2 separate regions of the Homo sapiens genome follow, and region 2 is linked to region 1. Evidence: promoter capture Hi-C in 16 types of primary human blood cells and fetal thymus (Javierre and others, 2016). All regions are on one chromosome and are shown on one strand. Each heading gives the region's core, a stretch centred on a gene start or on the middle of the fragment in contact. The rest is flanking DNA. Distances are from core to core; before and after follow the strand shown. Region 1 holds the start of CLC (Charcot-Leyden crystal galectin). Region 2 overlaps LOC105372399 (a long non-coding RNA gene).

Evidence for each region. The method cuts DNA at HindIII sites, captures the fragments that hold promoters and counts their contacts. A CHiCAGO score of 5 or more calls a contact.
Region 2: a fragment that was not itself captured here is called in contact with the fragment with the promoter of CLC in region 1 in 1 of 17 cell types (megakaryocytes); the score reaches 5.2 in megakaryocytes.

Annotation. Positions count from the first base shown.
Region 1 is chr19:39,735,868-39,739,521 of GRCh38, forward strand. CLC (Charcot-Leyden crystal galectin) reads right to left here and starts at 2,162. Exons shown (of 4, transcript NM_001828.6): 1 at 2,071-2,162. The coding sequence starts at 2,085. The HindIII fragment of the contact is 8,050 bases long and covers 1-3,654 here.
Region 2 is chr19:39,553,524-39,557,068 of GRCh38, forward strand. It overlaps LOC105372399 (a long non-coding RNA gene), which reads left to right. Exons shown (of 3, transcript XR_935966.3): 3 at 1,717-2,161. Among named protein-coding and RNA genes, the nearest start is that of EID2, 15 kb to the left of the region's middle. RefSeq lists a silencer at 2,454-2,513. The HindIII fragment of the contact is 751 bases long and covers 917-1,667 here.

The DNA.
Region 1 (3,654 bases), core at 912-3,411:
TGTAACAGTAGAGAGATTCACTCCAGTAAGAAACAACAACTTTGGGTTAGTTTCAATTTGAGAACAGCTACAAATAATGACACTATAAACATTTCTGTATAGGATTTTCCATAAACTAAAGTGTTTACTTGGCTAAAATCTGGTGAGTAAAGTGTTTCTGTTTGTTTGGTGATTTTATGTTTAATTTTATGGGAATACCAAACGATTTTCCAATGTAGCTGTATCATTTTACATCCCTCCAAGCATCGTTTGACTGTTTCAGGTACTCTGCATCTTTTCTAACTTGAGATTGTGAGTTTTATTTTTTATTATCATTTTAACCACCAAAAAAAAAAAGAAAGAAAGAAACAACACTTGTTGAAAGAGAGAGGGAAACGAACAGGAAAGAACAGGAAACCCCTGTGCGTGGGAGGCACATACATCACAATCATCATGGGCAATGGACGTCCTTCCCAGAAGGGGCACACATTGCTGAGAGCACAACCGCAGTACTTGCACAAATGAAGATTGTGGGTCAGGGAAGTTATTGGCTAGAATCTATAAATGGATGGTATTTTTCTTTTTTGAAACAGGGTCACACTGTCACCTAGGCTGGAATGCAGTGGCACCATCAAAACTCACTGCAGGCTGGGCGTGGTGGCTCACGCCTGTAATCTCAGCACTTTGGGAGGCCAAGGTGGGTGCATCACTTGAGGTCAGGAGTTCGAGACCAGCCTGGCCAACATGGAGAAACCCCATCTCTACTGAAAATACAAAAATTAGCCAGGAGTGGTGGCACAAGCCTGTAATCCCAGCTACTCGGGAAGCTGAGGTATGAGAATCGCTTGAACCCGGGAGGTGGAGGTTGCAGTGAGCCGAGATTGCACCACTGCACTCCAGCCTGGGAAACAGAGCGAGACTCTGTCTCAAAAAAAAAAAAAAAAAATTACTGCAGGTTTGAAGGCCTGGGCTTCAGTGAACCTCTTGCATATGCCCCCCAGCAGCTGGAACTACGGTATGCAACACCACATTCAATAAATTTTTAAATTTTTGGAAAGATGAAATCTTGCTATGTCTCCCAGGCTGGTCTACCAGTCCTGGCCTGACATGGGCCTTTCAATTCGGCCACCCAAAGTGCTGAGACTACAGGCCTCAGCAAACATCTTGATGAATATCCACTGTAAGCTCTGCCTTGTACCTTCCTGGTTTTGGGTGATTCAGTCTCTTAAATCAAGTCCCTCAATGTCCTTCTCTAGCATCCTGGCACTCAATGGGAAGGCCAGGCTAGGGTAGGAGACAGGGAGAGACCTGAGGCTGGAGGCAGGAGCCAGTGGTCACTGTGTGCAGATTCCACCTAAGGAACCATCAGCCCCATCGTCTGTTTCTCACCCCCATTCTGCTTGGGAAAAGGCACCTGAGAATTCATGCATTCTGCTCTCATAAATGCTCAGAGATAAGTCCTCGGTAACTCAAGGGCCCCAAGATCCCACAAGTTCTGTCACCGGGGATCCACAGTGATGCACAAGGGAAGTTAGACAGAGTACTGCTATGTGGGGAGGAACCTTCACATGCACAGAAGGCCACATGCATGTTCCCAGTTCAACACCCAGTCACATTCCAGCACACACACTCACAGTCACACAGAGCCGTGCCACTCACTGAGTCACACACACCTGCTCACTGTGCATATAAAGATGCTCATGCACTGGTCCGGCTGTGCTCACACACACACTCACATCACAGTCATGAAGACAAAACACAGTCACCTGATTACAATCACTTACACACCCACCCATATCCTGGAGGGCCATACACATCCCGTCTAAAGTCACATCATTTTTAGCAGAGTTTACTCTCATCAGATACCATCACATGCTCACAGAGGGTCACAATGTTCCAGCATCCACACCCCCTACCCCCCTACCCCAGGAGCATCTCAGATACCATAGCCCTAGGGTCTCTCTTCCACACACCCACAACTCTCAGTAAAGCATTCACAGTAGAAATTTTCATATTTTCATCCCATAAAATCTCCCTCTTCCCTTTTCTGTGTGACCTGAGATTATTGAAGGCTGTGCCTTTTTAACTCACGGGTAGCAGGGACATTGTTGTCTCCTTCTGGGTGGCTCTTCTGAATTGTGTCCAGACTTCTGTGTGAATCTCTGAGCTGCAGAATTTAAATGGCCCCTATCAGCCCTGCCTCTGGCTTTATTCCTGATTCCAAGCCCCTCCCAGGAAGGTTTCCTCACACAGTGAGAAGGGGTGGGGTGTCAGAAACAGACTCAGTCACAACCACACCTGTTTGGAGGCCTGTGCCTGTGATGCAGCAGAAACGACAGTGAGGGAGGTACTGGAGGAGGAAGGGGTCACCAGGGAAATGCACAGATAAAGACGATGGAGTGAGGATGAGTGGTGTGAGTTCCAGCCTCCATGCTTCTCATGAAGCCTTTTCTCCACTGTGCAGAATCTACCAGGAAGGTGTGCGTTCTCCTAACCTGTGCAATGGTAAAAAGCTGGAGATCCTGGGGGCAAGGCACTTGGCTTTGAAAGAAAATCCTCCTCCTCCTTCTCCAGTGGTTCTGGGAGAGCATAGATCTTGATCATTCGCAGGACCTGGGGACAGAAGTAGAGAAAACACTTGTGTCTTCTTTACCCACCCTCAGATCCCTTGGCTCTGCCAGGTGAGAGCCACTCCCACTCTGTCTCTCAGACACCTGGGCTTTAGGTACGCCCTCTTATTTCCCTATTTCTTTTCATGTGAATCAAAATCTGAGGCTGTCGTTCTCCTGCAGATTCTTGGAGAAAGGTGAGATTTCTCACTCATAAGTGGGAGCTAAGCGATGAGGATGCATTAGCATTAATATTAGTTGTGCTTGACCCGACAATAAATTCCACTTTCCCTGATCTAAAACCTTGACAATTCATTTCCAAGCATGCACTCCAAGATTCTGCTCATATAAATCAGCACAATCACACAGTTCTTTTGGTATATAACGTATTTCCTTAAGATTAATTTGTAATGTCATCCCACTGCATTCCTTGGGTTTTGACTCTGGGTATGGACATGGAAGCAATGAAAAGGGTCAGAGGCCACAATTAAGGAGCTTTGGAAACCCCGTTCTAGGCAACCACCCTCACACCCTGCCCAGAACTGTAGCTTGTAAGAAATTACCACAGAAGGGAAAGAGGAACTGCTTTTCCTTGCAACAGATATGCAATAGAATTTTGAGTAATATCCCAGCTATTCATCTGAACTGGGGAAGAAATATCAGTTCAGGGCGTCTGGCCACCTAGTAAGCTGTGGATAAAGATGTTGATGTTATTTACTTCTCAGGCATTCCAGCAATCCTTTCAGTGATGCAGAGAGATTGATCTTCTTTAACTTCCATATCCTCTGCACAATAGCCCATACTTCTGCTGGTTGCAACTATTTCTTCAGAAATCCATTATGCCCTACGACTTGCTTTCAGTCTTTCTTTTCAACTACATCTTTCCAAGCACACACTGTTCCCCCGAAAAACTTTAGGTTTTGTGTATGAAATTATATAATATCTGGGATTTGCTCTAAAATAATCTGGGGATGACAGTTCTCTCCTTTTGCAAACATTTGAAATTTTTTACAGTACAGTTTTTAATTAAGTAGCCAGTACATAGACTATATATAAAAGAAAAACA
Region 2 (3,545 bases), core at 42-2,541, 180 kb before region 1:
TCTTTCCCAAATCTGACCAAGGTCAAGGTTGGTTCACTTGCCATTTCCCCCAAGGTGGAGAATCATTTCCATAGCTGTCATTTCTGCTCATGCTGTTATTTACATTTTCATGTGGCCAAATAGACAAAATACATGTATGAATCAAATTATTTTAGTCAGTCAAAAATTAACTCTTCCTTTCACTCCCGAACCTCACTCCTACTCCCCAGAACAACACTACCAGCTTCTCTGCTCTCCTTCCAGAGATAATCTACCATTAGAGAACCGTATATTTCCTCTTCCTCATTTGTATAATATGCTTTCATTCCTTTTTGTATATATGCCTATACACATATTCATATATACATATATGCATATATGCTTTCATTTCTTTTTAAACAAATGCTGTTATAAATGTCTTTGTACATTACACTTTGGAAACTAGAGTCGATTTATAGTCAAAGAACATATCTTGGAGAATTCATCTATCTATGGTGCTGCTTCATTTTTCTTTTTTTTTTTTTTGAGATGGAGTTTCGCTCTTGTTGCTCAGGCTGGAGTGCAATGGCGCAATCTCAGCTCACTGCAACCTCCACCTCACAGGTCCAAGCGATTCTCCTGCCTCAGCCTCCCAAGTAGCTGGGATTAAAGAGATGCACCACCACGCCTGGTTAATTTTTTGTATTTTTAGTATAGATGGGGTTTCTCCATGTTGGTCTGGCTGGTCTCGAACTCCTGACCTTAGGTAATCTGCCCGCCTTGGCCTCCCAAAGTGCTGGCATTACAGGCATGAGCCACTGCGCTTGGCCTGCTGCTTCATTTTTTAAAGATTGCATAATATGCCAGTAGAAGGATGATCCAAAATGATTGAACTTGACCGTTTTGATGGTTACTGCGTGGTTTTTAGTATTTTGCTCTCACAAAGGGTGCTGTATTAAGCTTTCTAATCAACTCTTTTGTAATTATCAACCTACCAATACTTACATTGGAGGATACTTGCAAAGACATAAAATAATTGGTTGAAAATTGTGTGAAAAATCTTAAAATTTCATAAATTAATACCTTTAAGATGACTTTCTTCATAGCTACAGCAATACAGATTATATTGAAATTTTCTCACCTTCTCTAACGGGTAGGCCAAAAGGTGAACATTTTATTCAGCTCTAAGTGAGGCATCTGTTCATATGCCTACTATAGGCTGCTAAAATAATATCCTATGTTTTGCAACATCTGTCCTGTTCCTCCTCTCTAAGAACACTTGGGTTTCATTCTTGGCCACCTCCAGCCCAGATCTGGGCTACTCCAAAGAGAAACTGGGCCATCAGCAGTGAATGGGAGTCACAGTTGGTGGAACTTAAAAGTACCCATTCAATAAACATTGTCAAGCACTAACCTCGTGGCAGGCCCTGTGCAAGATGCAGGAATTCAAGGTCAAGAGACACAATCCCTGGCCATGGGGATCTTCCAGGCTAGAGGGGAGATCCAGCAAACAGGGACCACGTGACATAGAGGGGTAGAGCCTCACTGGAAGAATGAGAGGAAACATTGAAAATGCAGTGAGCAACTGTCTCAGATAGCCACAAAATGTAGTCTGTAAACAGAAGTGAGTCTGCCGGGTTTTGATGTATAATTAGGAGTTTTCTGGGTGGGTGTTGTAGGTACTAGGGCAGAGTAGAGAGGAGGCTGAAAGCTTGTTTGGTGAAATACTGTCTTTCTGATGCACTTTTCCTCTTGCAGGTAATGGTAAGTGGCCAACACTGCTACAGCTTTGCCCATCGACTCCTGCCAGGGTCTGTGAAGATGGTGCAAGTGTGGAGAGGTATCCCCCTGACCTCAATGTGTGTCTGAGATTGAGGTGATGACCACACTCCCCACTGTCGAGGAATCTCTCTTTCTACGTGACCATGCGGTTCCCAGAGCCTGCTGACAGCATGATCCCTCCTTACTCCTTCCCCTACACTTGCTCATTAAAACTTCACCAAACTTCACAGGATTTTGGCTTTTGCTTGAAGGGGAAAAAGCAAAAGTGGTCATCACCAAGAGGGCCTGAGGGGTTTCATGGGAGGCATCAAGAAATCAAAGAGAATAAAGCTTCCTGTGGCACAAGGAGTGAGTGACAAGGTCCCTGGAATGTCTGACATGACATTAGGAACAACGTCCATCTATAGCATGTAGTTGACTTCAGAGACTCTGACCCAAAATCCTCTGATTTGGGTCAAACCCAAATCAGAGATTTATCTGACCCATTAATCCTCCTTCCTTCTTGCCCTTTCTCCTTCTGCCATGGGATGATGTGGCACAAAGGCCCTGGCCAGATCCCAGCTCTGTGCTCATGGATTTTCCAGCCTCCAGAATTGTAAGCCAAATAAATGTTTGTTTGTTATAAATCATCCAGTTTGTTATAGCAGCACAATATGGACTTAGATGGTGGTGAAGCACTGTTGCAGGCCTGGAGGACAGAAATCACTGGTATAGGGAGAAATTCTACAAGTTGACCCAGACCCTACCAGGGGCTTACCTCCAGCCCAGTGCCTGAATATGCTGAGGCAAGTGAACCAGGAGGAACTGAGAACAGAATCCAGGCTTCACTGGCTGCCTCTGTGTTGGTGACAGCAGAAAGACGAGTATAGGGTGGTGGCTGTGAGATGGCATTGTGCCATGGGAAGAAGTAGACCAAGAAGTGTTTCCTGGGCACTGAGGAGTGTCTTCTATCTCATGGTGGCCTCTTTACCAGCACAGCTGACCAGTGCATGGGTCCCTCTACCTCTCAAGATACAGGCACAGTGATAAGAAATAGTGCCCATGTAGGTCCTGGAGAAAAAAAAAGTCAAACCCAAGATATGTAACCTCCAGAAATGACTTTGGAAGTGCCTTTATTTATTTATTTATTTTCAGATGGAGTTTTGGTCTTGTTGCCCAGGCTGGAGTGCAATGGTGCGATCTCACCTAACCGCAACCTCCACCTCCCGGATTCAAGCAACTCTCCTGCCTCAGCCTCCTAAGTAGCTGGGATTACAGGCATGCACCACCACACCTGGCTAATTTTGTATTTTTAGTAGAGACAGGGTTTCTCCATGTTGGCCAGGCTGGTCTTGAACTCCCGACCTCAGGTGATCCGCCCACCTCGGCCTCCCAAAGTGCTGGGATTATAGACGTGAGCCACCACGCCTGGCCTAGAAGTGCCTATTTTATTGTGTCCAACACTTGACCCCTTTACAAAGCTATTATAACAGTGTGGTGCTTGCTTAAGGAGAGGCACATATACCAATGGAATATAATAGGGAGCCCAGAAATAAACACTCACATACACATTCATGTGAGAGTCCACAGTAGGCCAAGACCATCTCACTGGGAAAGGACAGTCTTTTCAACACATGATGCTGGGAAAACTGGACTTACACATGCAAAATAATATGGTTGGGGCCTTTATCTTATAACATATACAAAAATTAACTCAGAATGTATCACAGAATACATGTAAGACCTACAACGATAAAATTCTTTGAAAAAAACATAGACGCATATCTTCATGACATGAAATTTGGCAATGATTTCTTGGGGATGAC